Regions from separate parts of the Homo sapiens genome. Here region 1 is linked to region 2. Evidence: promoter capture Hi-C in 16 types of primary human blood cells and fetal thymus (Javierre and others, 2016). All regions are on one chromosome and are shown on one strand. The core of a region is centred on a gene start or on the middle of the fragment in contact, and the rest is flanking DNA. Distances in the headings are between cores, read along the strand shown.

Region 1 (5,791 bases), core at 1,586-4,085, 120 kb before region 2:
TCAGCATTAACTCAAAAGTCCACAGTCCAAAGTCTCATCTGAGACAAAGCAAGTCCCTTCTGCCTATGAACCTGTAAAATCAAAAGCAAGTTAGTTACTTCCCAGATACAATGTGGTATAGGCATTAGGTAAATAAAGCCATTCCAAATGGGAGAAATTGGCCAAGACAAAGGGGCTATAGGCCCCATGCAAGTCCGAAATCCAACAAGGCAGTCAAGTCTTAAAGCTCCAAAATGATTGGGAGAAATTGGCCAAGACAAAGGGGCGATAGGCCCCATGCAAGTCTGAAATCCAACAAGGCAGTCAAATCTTAAAGCTCCAAAATGATCTCCTTTGACTCCAAGTCTCATATCCAGGTCACACTGATAAAAGAGGTGGGTTCCCATGGTCTTGGGCAGCTACCCACCTGTGGTTTTTGCAGGATACAGCCTTGCTCCCCGCTGCTCTCACGGGCTGGTGTTCAGTGTCTGTGGCTTTTCCAGGTGCACAGTGCAAGCTGTCAGTGGATCTATCATTCTGGGGTCTGGAGGATGGTGGCCCTCTTCTCACAGCTCCACTAGGCAGTACCCCAGTAGGGACTCTGTGTAGGGGATCTGACCCCACATTTCCCTTCTGCACTGCCCTAGCAGATGATCTCTATGAGAGCCCCACCCCTGCAGCAAACTTCTGCCTGGACATCCAGGCATTTTCATACATCCTCTGAAATCTAGGTGAAGGTTCCCAAACCTCAATTCTTGACCTTCTGTGCACTCGCAGGCTCAACACCACGTGGAAGCTGCAAGGCTTGGGGCTTGCACCCTCTGAAGCCATGGCCTCAGCTCTATGCTGGCCCCTTTCAGCCATGGCTAGAGTGGCTGGAAGGCAGGGCACCAAGTCTATAGGCAGCATACAGCACAGGGACCCTGGGCCCGGCCCATGAAACCACTTTTTCCTCCTAGGCCTCCAGGCCTGTGATGGGAGGGGTGGCTGTGAAGACCTCTGACATGCCCTGAAGACATTTTCCCCATTGTCTTGGGGATTAACATTTGGCTCCTTGTTACTTATGCAAATTTCTGCAGCCAGCTTGAATTTCTCTTCGGAAAACAAGATTTTCTTTAATATCACATTGTCCAGCTGCAAATTTTCTGAACTTTTATGCTCTGCTTCTCTTATAAAACTGAATGCCTTTAACAGCACCCAAGTCAACTCTTGAATGTTTTCCTGCTTAGAAATTTCTTCCGCTAGATACCCTAAATCACCTCTCTCAAGTTCAAAGTTGCACAAATCTCTAGGGCAGGGGCAAAATGCCACCAGACTCTTAGCTAAAATATACCAAGAGTCACCTTTACTCCAGTTCCCAACAAGTTCCTAATCTCCATCTGAGACCACCCCAGCCTGGACTTCATTATCCATATCAATATCAGCATTTTGGTAAAAACCATTCAACAAGTCTCTACCGAGTTCCAAACTTTCCCACATTTTCTTGTCTTCTTCTGAGCCCTCCAAACTGTTCCAACCTCTGCCTATTACCCAGTTCCAAAGTCTCTTCCACATTTTCAGGTATTTTCAGTAGCGCCCCACTCTACTGGTACCAGTTTACTCTTTTAATCTATTTTCATGCTGCTGATAAAGACATACCCGAGACTGGGCAATTTACAAAAGAAAGAGGTTTATTAGACTTAAACAGTTCCACGTGGTTGGGGAGGCCTCACAATCACGGCAGAAGGTAAAAGGCATGTCTCATATGGCGACAGACAAGAGAAGAGAGCTTGTGCAGGAAAACTCCCCTTTTTAAACCGATCAGATCTCAAGAGACTTACTAACGATCACAAGAACAGCATGGGAAAGACCCACCCCATGATTCAATTATCTCCCACTGGGTCCCTCCCACAACATGAGGAAATTATGGGAGCTACAAGATTTGGGTGGGGACACAGAGCCAAACCATATCATGCATAAAAGCACTTTTTGGAGGAGTCCATAGATTTCATCTTTTCCTATGAAGTAGTCAAAACCTAAGCTATTTCACTGACGTTACCCCAAGGTCTAAAACAGTGTCTGGCAAATAAAAGATTGAGAATTTTTCTTTACTCAGCTACTGCTTTAGTGATTCACAGCAAAGGTTCTAAGCTCATTCTTTATCACCAGTGGACTTATCAGCTAGACCAAGTATGGTCAGAGTGAAAACTTCATATCTGATGCTTAGAAATCAGATTGAATTAAAAATAACAACCCAACCAATTGGTTATTCATTTTTTCTTCATGGTAAACAAACACAGGAATTCTTAAAACACTAGATCTAGTAAGTAAAGCTGTAGATTTAAAAAACAAAAAAAAGAACAAAACAAAACAAACAAACAAAAACGAGGGTTCTGAATAAATTTTTCCAACCTCTCTCGATAGAGGAAGGCTTCAAACCAAGTTTACCTGGCTACAAAACACACCTAAATTTTCAGAAGAGGAAGATATTTCTGTTGACTACATTTTCAAAACCTTCAAATGCAATTATAATTAACAAATATGAACTAATTCAATTAATCAGTTACAAATTATATGCCTACAAAGTCACTCCTTTGGATCTAAAACTCATATATCTAAGGTGGGTTATATAATAAGAAAGGGAAAGAAATGTGGATGTTTTGGTGGTAGTGTGAGAGAGGTGGGGTTTAAATTACTTTCAAGTGATTTGGATTACAACCAATATTATTTCCCCAAGGTCTAAAAAATGAATCACATGCAAAGCTAGGAAATGAATCCAAAATGCCTAACACCCACGATACAGTGCTTTTTTTTTTCACCCAGAAAACTATCTGAAAGGCTGCAAACAACGGAGCCTTCCAGAGATGCAGTGGGTGGTTTTTGTCCACACATTACATCAGACGGCACCTTTCAGTAAACCAGCACTTCATCCTGTGGAGAACGGAATCCAGATTTCAGCTGGAAAGCTCGGTAAAGTTACCTTTGTATTTTGTCCCTGAATGTCTTCATCTATAGCTGTTACTAGTAGACTAAGTAGGTGCTGTTTCAGGTGGCTGTCTAGTGTGGAATAGCTATAATTCTCCAAAGTTTAAGTTAATGATAGATGTTTGCTTTTCAGACAAACTAATTCAAGGACAGAGATTATAGTTGTAGGGTTTGGTATATTTTTTAAATAACAGAGCGCCATCCTTAAAGCAGTGATTCTTAGGGAGAGGCATACAACCCCAACCCTCAAGAATATCAGAACTTCCTGGGGGTGTATGCGATGAAAAAAAAAGCAAATATTTAAGTTCATAATTCTGTTTTGTTTTGTAACAGAGTTTCGCTCTTACTGCCCAGGCTGGAGTACAATGGCGTGATCTTGGCTCACCACAACCTCCACCTCCCAGGTTCAAGCAATTCTCCTGCCTCAGCCTCCCAAGCAGCTGGGATTACAGGCGCATGTCACCATACCAGGCTAATTTTTTTATTTTTAGTAGAGACAGGGTTTCTCCATGTTGGTCAGGCTGGTCTCGAACTCCCGACCTCAGGTGATCCACCTGCCTTGGCCTCCCAAAGTGCTGGGATTACAGGCGTGAGCCACTGTGCTCGGCCCATAATTTTGTATTTAAAAAAGGAAAACAAAAACATTACCCTAATAACAAGAACACTTAAAGAAGGGTGTGTGACTCTTCCATTAAGAGAGGGGAAACAGGTGAAGTAAAGCTCCAATTCCTGTTTTCACAAGTGTAGCTGATTAGATGCCCTGGAGGGCCCTTCTGCTCCAACAACGAGATCTCACATAAGTCATAGTTTTTATTCCATGTCTCACAAGGAAGTCGGGGAAATCTTTAAAAGGACAAACCAATATAGCTGTAGGCTAAAACCAGAGAGCAGAAAGATGGGTAGGAGTGTTAAACTGAGAGCAAAGGGTCATTTTAACACTTCAGTGGGCCAGGTGCGGTGGCTCACACCTGTAATCCCAGCATTTTGGGAGATCAAGGCAGGTGGATCACCTGAGGTCAGGAGTTTGAGACTAGCCTGGCCAACATGGCGATACCCCGTCTCTACTAAAAATACAAAAATTAGCCGGGTGTGGTGGCACATGCCTGTAATCCCAGCTACTCAGGAGGCTGAGGCGGGAGAATCGCTTGAACTTGGAAGGTGGTGGTTGCAGTGGGCCGAGATCATGCCACTGCCCTCCAGCCTGGGCAACAGAGCGAGACTCCAGCTTAAAAACAAACAAATAAAAAAACACTCCAGTGGGGACACTGAGCCCTTGGACCAGCAGAAAGGTAGGCAAGAGGAAAGCAGAGCCTGAGATTTTTAAGTAATGCCAGGGATCCTGAAACAGCTAGTCACCCCAGAGACAGGCACTGTCACTCAGTGGAAGGCTGCACTCTCAAGAAAAAGCATCCTTGGCCGGGCGCGGTGCCTCACGCCTGTAATCTCAGCACTTTGGGAAGCCGAGGCGGGCGGATCACCTGTGGTCAGGAGTTCAAGACCAGCCTGGCCAACATGGTGAAACACTGTCTCTACTAAAAATACAAAAATTAGCCAGGCGTGGCATGGTGGCGGGCACCTGTAATCCCAGCTACTCAGGAGGCTGAGGCAGGAGAATCACTTGAGGTTGCAGTGATTTCCGAGCCGAGATTTCCACTGCATTCCAGCATGGGCGAAAGAGCAAAACTCCGTTTCAAAAAAAAAAAAAAAAAAAAAAAGGCGCCAGCCACGGTGGCTTGCACTTTAGGAGGCTGAGGCGAGTGGATCACCTGAGGTCCAGAGTTCGAGACCAGCTTGGCCAACATGGAGAAACCCTGTCTCTACTAAAAATACAAAAATTAGCTAGGCATGGTGGCAGGATCCTGTAACCCCAGCTACTCGGGAGGCTGAAGCAGGAGAATCACTTGAACCCAGGAGGCGGAGGTTGCAGTGAGCCGAGATCACGCCATTGCACTCCAGCCTGGGCAACAAAAGCGAAACTCTGTCTCAAGAAAAAAAAAAAAAAGGCATCCTTGACACACTAATATCCAGAATCTATAAGGAACTTAAGAAAAAAATAATCCCATTAAAAAGTGGGCAAGACATAAACAGATACTTCTCAAAAGACATGTATGTGGCCAACACACATACAAAAAAATGCTCAACATCGCTCATCATCAGAGAGATGCAAATCCAAACCACAACGAAATGCCATCTCACACCAGTCAGAATGGCTATTAAATAATCAAAAAACAGGCCGGGTGCAGTGCCTCATGCATGTAATCCCAGCACTTTAGGAGGCCAAGGTGGGCAGATCACCTAAGGTCAGGAGTTCGAGACCAGCCTGGCCAACATGGCAAAACCCTGTCTCTACTAAAAATACAAAAATTAGTCAGGCATGATGGCAGGAGCCTGTAATCCCAGTTACTTGGGAGGCTGAGGTAGAAGAATCGCTTGAACCCAAGAGGCAGAGGTTGCAGTGAGCCGAGATCGCACCACTGCACTCCAGCCTGGAAACAGAGCAAGACTCCATCTCAAAAAAAAAAAAAAAAAAAAGCAATAGATGTTAGTGAGATTGCAAAGAAAGCTATTTGGGAGGCTGAGGTCGAAGGACCACCTGAGACCAGGAGTTCAGTGTGGGCAATATAGTGAGACCTCGTCTCTAAAAAAATTAAATAAAATAAAAAATACTTCCCCCAGTGTGGTGGTGCACACCAATAGAAAAAAGAGAAAGTATCCTTAGGTTAGGCCTAGATTTTCACAGATTAATATCAATCAAATATCCATTTATAATACAAGCAAAGAAACCACCATATGTACAAGTCATAAGAAATAACAACAGATTTAGATCTCTAAGAACTTCAGATATTTG
Region 2 (6,667 bases), core at 1,353-3,852:
CTGGGTCCAAAGCTCAGCCATACGCCAAGAGGAAAAGATTTGATCAGACTCACTCCTCACTGTAAGCTGATACAGTATATCTCTCTTTAGCTGATCTGAAACCCAGTTGAGACATGTCTAATGATGATGATGATGACGAACTTTTCCCTTTGTATCTTAATTTTCTTCCCCTTCCTCTCTGCCTTCATCCCTTGTTCCACTCTGTTTCCAGTAGAATTATCCAGAAGAAATTTGTTCTCCTCTTTAGATAGATCCTTCGAACCCCTTCCCAACCCAACTCATGTTCTAAAGCTTGTTACGTGTTTTTTTCTTTCCAATTTGACAGACACTTTTGTTGTTGTTTTTGTTTGTTTTTTAACAGGGTCTCATTCTGTCACCCAGGCTGGAGTGCAGTGGCATGATCACTGAGCCTAGAACTCCTGTGCTCAGGCAATACTCCTGCTTCAGCCTCCTGAGGAGCTGAGACTACTGGCATGAGCCTCCATGCCCGCCATCCATTCTGACAGACAGTTCTACTTTCCTAGCAGGAGGCAGAACCCTGAGTAGGACAAATGGATGGCCAGACAAAGCAATCAAGATGGGTGGTGAGAGTGGCTCCATCTTTTTCCTTGCCCTGCAGGCCCCTAGGAGAGGGTTTCTCTGAGACCTGATGTTTCCCACTCCATACCTAACAATGGTGAGGAACTAGGGCCAGGCTTTGTGGATCCGGCACTTTTCTCTAGGCCACAGTTAGCTGCTTAGAGGTTGTGGGAGGAGAAGGATCCTGTTATGACCAATTCTGCAAATGGATTCCAATATGTCTTTACAGTCCCGGGGCCCTGGGAAAGTGTGTAAGTGTGTGTGTATGTATATGTGTGTGTGTGTGTTGGGGGTGGAGTTATTCTGGGTCATGCCACCTGGAAATCACTGCATCAATGAGACCTGGAGATCACTGCATCAATGAGACCTGGAGCAGCTCACTTCATTGTCCCCAGAAAGGCATCTTTGCCCAAGAAGAGAACCAAAATCATGGCTCAGGGAGAGATGGCCCCAAGTTATGCATCTTGAGTGTGTTTGCACAGGTGGAGGGGTGGGTAGGGTAGAAGGTTATTCAACAGTCCTGGTTCTCTGGATCTATCCAGGCCCTCGACCTTTATCCATGTGCTCACTGACTGCTCTGTTGGGGGCCTCTTTCTGCCTCCCAGCTGGCGGTGAGCTAAGAGGCTTCCGGTGTCAGGGAATGCTCCACCTCCGGTGTTCAAGGCCACTTTTTGTGCATGTGTGTGTACCTGTGTGCACGCTTTCCCAGAAGCAAGTCTCCTTCTTGTTGTTTTGGGAGCTTCATGTCCTGGAGCCAGGGCTTTGTGGCTAACGAGTGCTTTGAGAGGATGAAATTCCTGAGCTCTCGCTCGCTGACCCTCTGCCTTCCTTCCTTGGCCAACAGCCCATCCCAGGGAGCGGTGTGATTCTTACCACTGCCTTCACTCCTTGAAAGAACAAACATCTTCACTGCAGCCTCTGAGCGCTGGTGTGAGGTGATTGTTTGTAGTAGATGTTTCCATGACACTCATTTATTTCTTCTGCAAATACAACTGTATTGGGGGAGGGGAAGCAGACAGGCTAGGGTAGGGAGACTGGAACATACGAAGACCTTCCAGTTTCCTATTTACATTCCTCTGTAGGATGAGAAGCTCCTTCCCTTTCCCTGGGTCTCCTCCATCCCAGACTCCTAAAGCTTCCCCCAAACCCATCTTGGTTTCATGCGGCCGAGTCGGGGCTGGGCTCCGAGTAAGGTGGAGAGGGGAGGAACCATGTGCGTGAGGAAGCAGCCTTTATCAGGAGAAGTGGGAAAAAGACCCAACTTTGACTGCTTGGAGTCGGGATTCAGTAATGATGAGCAGCAGTGACCAGCACTGGGGGTGGAGTGTGTGTGCACGAGTGTTCCTGAGGGGTCTGTGGCACTTCGCAGCTGAGCCAATGACTCACTCTAAATCTTAGCGACTTTGAGAGGTCATTTTAGTCATCCCCCGGTCTGCATCACGTTTGGAGGGGGTGGTGCGCTGCTCTGGGGACGTGTCTGGGTGCGGAGGGAGACGGGGTGGGGAGGCGGCGCGTGACCTCTTTGAAAAGATCTCCGGCGAAGGACGTTCCCCGGCTCTCCCGGGCCGCCGGCTCCTGGGTTTCCCCATCATAGAATCAGCATGGTCCTCTCGGGAACTGCTTTTTGCCGGATGGAAACCGGATGTTGGGTTCCATGAGTGGGCGGGGGCTCCACTTCCCTCAGACCTGTCCGGGGTAATTGAGACCCGCCAGGGTCCCGTTAGAAGCTACCATTTCCCTCACCAGAAACTTGCCACGCAGTGTGAGCCGAGAGAGAAGCGGGCAGAGACGCTATACCACCTTCTCCCCGGCAATGCGCATGATTCTGCGGCTCTGTGCTCGCCACACTTCAACGCACCTTGAAATGGGCTCGCCTCCTTCGCGCCGCGACGGGCGGAAGGCTGAGCCAATCGGACCCCCGGCTTGCGGGCGGCGCCCAATAGGCGGGCGGCGGGGGCGGTTCCGGAGGCCCGGCCCGGCTAGGCTTCACCGTGGACCTGGCTGCGCTCCGCCCGGGCGAGTAGTGCAGGTGCCGCTGCGCCGGGGCCGGGGAGGCGCGCGCCGAGCCGAGCGGAGCCTAGGAGGGATGGAGAGCTGGCCACCCGGGCTGCAGGAGCACCGGCGCGGGGCGTAGGCGGCGCGAGGCGGGCGCGAGGCGGGCGCTCGGGCGCGAGGCGCGTGCGGGCGCGGGAGCACTTTGCGATAGGATGAGGCTCCGGGCTGGCGCGGTAGTACTATGATTTGGTATGTGGCCACTTTCATAGCAAGTGTGATCGGCACCCGAGGGCTTGCGGCTGAAGGTGAGTTGAAGTGCGGCGTCCCTCCCCTGCCCCTCCCGGCGCCCTCGGCCCCTCGCGCCCGGCCCCTCGGTTTCCCGGCTCCTTGGCCCCCCGGTTCCCCAGCTCCCCGGCGCGCCTTCCCGCGGGTGAGGCTTGGGCTCCGACGCGGGCCAGGCGGCCCGGGAGCATTGCCGGGGAGGGCCTGGGGGCCGTGGGCTGGAGGGGCGGGCGGGAAGGGGCCAGAGCCCACGGGCTGCCGGGCACTCGGGGAAAGGACGCAGTGGAACCTGGGTCGACTTCGCCCACCACGGGCCCCACGGTGCACACCGGCGCGCCTAGCCCGTCGCCTCCTGCCCGGCGGCCGCCTCCCAGAGCTGCGGGAAACTCTGGCTGCGGGAGTTTGCGGTCTCCGGGCAGGCTGCAGCACGCTAGAGCCCCGCGCCGCGAGGAGCGCCTGCAGGGAGGCGCGACCCGGAGGATCCCTGGGACTGGCGGCACCCGCGTCTAAGGCCCCGGGTTCGCGCGGCCCTGCGGGCGTCCATCGCTCCGCTCGCGCCCCTCCTGCCCACACATCTTGGCAGCTGGAGGTCGGATCCCCCTAGCAGGGGCGCCCGGTGAGAGGAGGATTGATGAGGCCAGCTTCGAGGTGTGTCCGCTTTTGGCTGGACCCCGCCGGCCCCCGCGCCTCTCAGCCGCACCTGGGCCCCGGCCAGGCAAAAGTTCCCCGGGAGCGCGCCGCAGCCGCGCGGGCCCCACGCCGCCCTCCCCAGGCTGCGAGGCAGAGCTGGCTGGGGGCGGCGGCGGGGGAGGGGAGGGGCGGGGAAGGGGGGGTCCCCACGCTGTGAATCCGAGCGGAGGGGGGATTTTCTCTTTCCGCTTTCCTGGGTCTGAGCTGGGGGAGACGCAAGGGGGGAGCCACCGAGTTGGGTGATGCGTGCGTGAGCGCGCGGGCTTTTGCTTTGGAGATGGGCAGAGCGACCTACAAGCCTCTGGGTGGCACCCCCGGCTCTCGGCCCTTGTATGGAAGTGGGAGCGGAGCCTGGAGGGTGCCAGGACTGTGAGCTCAGGGCTGTCAGCGCGCAGACACGACCCGGCTGCGGGCAAGTTCACCAAGCCGGAGGAGATGGCGGCGGGAGAGAACCCGCTGTGGGTGGGAGTCAGCAGGCAGGACTCGCCGACAGAGAACCCTCTCCCAGCGGCATGGGGCGCCGGGTGGGCTGGAGGCGCCTCTCACGGGGTCCCCTCGTCACTCGTCTGTGCAGGGGGGCGTGCTTCAGGAAACTTTCCGGAATGGAATGAATATGTCGCCTCTGCTTCTGAGGGGGGTGGTGGTGTCTGAAAACAGAACGAGCAGAGGGCGAAGCGAAGGGTGATTTTGTTAACTGACATGTTGGTCCGGACGGTTTTAAAACTCTTCATTTGTCAGGTGGGAACACTGAGGCAAGGGTGATGGCGGAAGCTTACGGAACGGGGGGTGGATGTGAGGTGCATCGGGCTGCGCTTGACAGTCTGCCTGTAGCCTCATCCTCTCCCCCATTTCCTTGCCGTCTTCCAATGCCCGCATCCTCCTCCCCTCCCGTTTTTGGTATGTTCCTGCTATGGGACTGTCCCTGAAAGCACAAAAGGATGAGCTGGGATCTTTGAATAGAAAAGAGACGCTGAAGGAAGGCTCTGAAATAGCCTCCGAACCTAAGTCAGGGTGGGCAATGGACTTCTTTGCAAGTTTCAGCCCAGAATAAAGGAATGTGAGTTTATACTGCAGCAACACGCAGAATCGCAAGATAGAAGGAAGGGCTTCCCAAAATTGAAGGCTGCCTGGCATGAAGGTTATGCCCTCTTTCAGGGTGCAGAGGGGTCCTTCTGTCTGGAATGGCTGGACATGTACCCCTGTCTGGAAGCAGAGGGTGACCTTGCTGGTCTTGGGGTCTTTCTTAGCCTCAATTGCTCTGTGTGTGGTAGTTAAGGACCTAGGTCTAGAGCCATATGACTGGGATTCAGATTCTGGCTGTGTCACCTGCCGACCCTGTGACCTTGGACAAATTCTCAACCTCTCTAAATGTCACTTGCTTCAATAGAAAATGTGCCAATAGCATGTACTTTTAGGGTTTTTAGGTGGACATGAGTGTTATAAGGAAACAAAACAACTACCTGTTATATAGTACGTGCTCAGTAAACATTAACATTATTTTCTCAGTGTCCCTGGGATTCCAAGATCCTCCTCAATTTCTTTCCCTTGGGCCATTCAGGGCACTAGGAGCTGAGAATGTGTTGCGGGGAAGTTCAGAAGGCTGCCTGTGTCAGGAAGTAAGACCCCTTTCTGGGCTGACCTTGTCTGGGCAGAACCTCTTGTCCCTGGCATCCCAGGGACACGTGTGCAGGATGTGCGGGCCTCAAAGCTGCTCGGAAGTCCTTTGCAAGGTCTCCAAAGCTGGAGTGTTGTTGGTGGCCAGAGGTTTATGGAAGGACACAGCCCGGGAAGTGAGGGCTTGCAACACACAGCCTCTGGAGAGAGCGGGTGGGCGCCCGCTCGTGTGAGCAGCACCAGCCAGTGTCCACATGCTGCTGAGTCTCCCTGTGAGAGCTCAGCTGTTCCCTGACTGGCAGAGGTGACTTCTGGGGCAGTCCCTCAGCAGGAGGGACTTTGAGATGCCACCCTTAGGATTTGGCCATAGCAGGGGCTGCTCTGGCAGAGGGGGAAAGGGATGATGTTGTGTTGGGACCCGACTCCATCAGCCCTCGGGTGCGGGACAGAGGTTGGAATGGGCTCCTCCTTTTGACTTTGAGTGTGTGTGCCTGGGAGGTGATTAAGGTCAGTGGACAGGTTGGGGAAGTGTGGAGAAGAGAGGGGCTGGAGTGGTACCCAGAACCTGGAAGACAGTGATTGGTGTGCACTCAGTATCTCAGACGGCTGCTGAGCCAGCCCGGGGGAGTTCCTACTCTGTGGGAGGACCCTGGGCCGTGCTTAGCTGATTGTGGACCTTGGATAGGGGAGGAAAGTCCCAGACTTTACTCCCACGGCTGCCTCCTCTGTCTGCCACAGATTCTGTCGTTACATTATCCCTGACTACAGTGTCCCCAAATACAGTGAGGTTCTGACTCAGATCCTGCTGGTAGTTGGGCCATTGCCCTCTACTTTCTACCTGGCCTTGACCTATGCTTCCTTTTGGTAATGAAGATGGGAGGGTGGAGGTTTGGACTCAGAGGTTGCTATCAAGACCCCGTGGTGAGCCTATCGGCTGAGAAGGACTTCACTCAGGAAGTGGTCAGTGGCTGGATGGATGTGTGTGTGTATCCTCAGCACACACATGCTGGGGACAGGAGTGTGTCTGGCAGCCTGTGCCCTGTGGGAAGCTGGGGAGACGGGGATGTGAGAAGGGCTTGGCTGAGGGGCAGAGGGCAATCAGCTTTCAGCCGCGGGCCTGTGGCCCTGCATGTGCTGGTCCTGGAGTTGCAGGGTCCTAGATAGACCTTGAGTGGTTTCGTGTTTATGGCTCTGAGACAGAAGGCTGGAATCTGGTTACAGAGGAGCAGAGGCTGCCTCGCTGGAAGATTCTGAGCCCCAGCATCACTCTGGCCCTCACTCCAACCTCCTGTACCTTTGCCTTCTCCCCAGCCAGGGTGCTGGCTGTGTCTTCTTCCTTGGCCCTCTCTTCCTCAGCCCTGCTGGGTGCTTCAAGATGTGGGGGTGGGAGATAAGCTCCAAAGAGGGCTGGGCCTGAGATTTAAGGTAGCTCTCTTCTCCACATCCTGTGGCCTTCTCAGGTTGGGGTGCAGAGTACTTAGGGAGCGGTCCCCTTCCACCTGCTTCC

Evidence for each region. Contacts are between HindIII fragments. The CHiCAGO score rates a contact against its expected background, and 5 or more counts as called.
Region 1: a fragment that was not itself captured here is called in contact with the fragment with the promoter of IGSF9B in region 2 in 7 of 17 cell types (total CD4 T cells, naive CD4 T cells, non-activated CD4 T cells and 4 more); the score reaches 10.9 in total CD4 T cells.

The regions. Positions count from the first base shown.
Region 1 is chr11:134,076,518-134,082,308 of GRCh38, reverse strand. All of the region lies in intron 1 of JAM3 (junctional adhesion molecule 3), which reads right to left. Among named protein-coding and RNA genes, the nearest start is that of JAM3, 10 kb to the right of the region's middle. The HindIII fragment of the contact is 9,046 bases long and covers 1-5,791 here.
Region 2 is chr11:133,952,903-133,959,569 of GRCh38, reverse strand. It overlaps IGSF9B (immunoglobulin superfamily member 9B), which reads left to right and starts at 2,602. Exons shown (of 20, transcript NM_001277285.4): 1 at 2,602-2,879. The coding sequence starts at 2,816. RefSeq lists a silencer at 2,424-2,773. The HindIII fragment of the contact is 2,603 bases long and covers 1,717-4,319 here.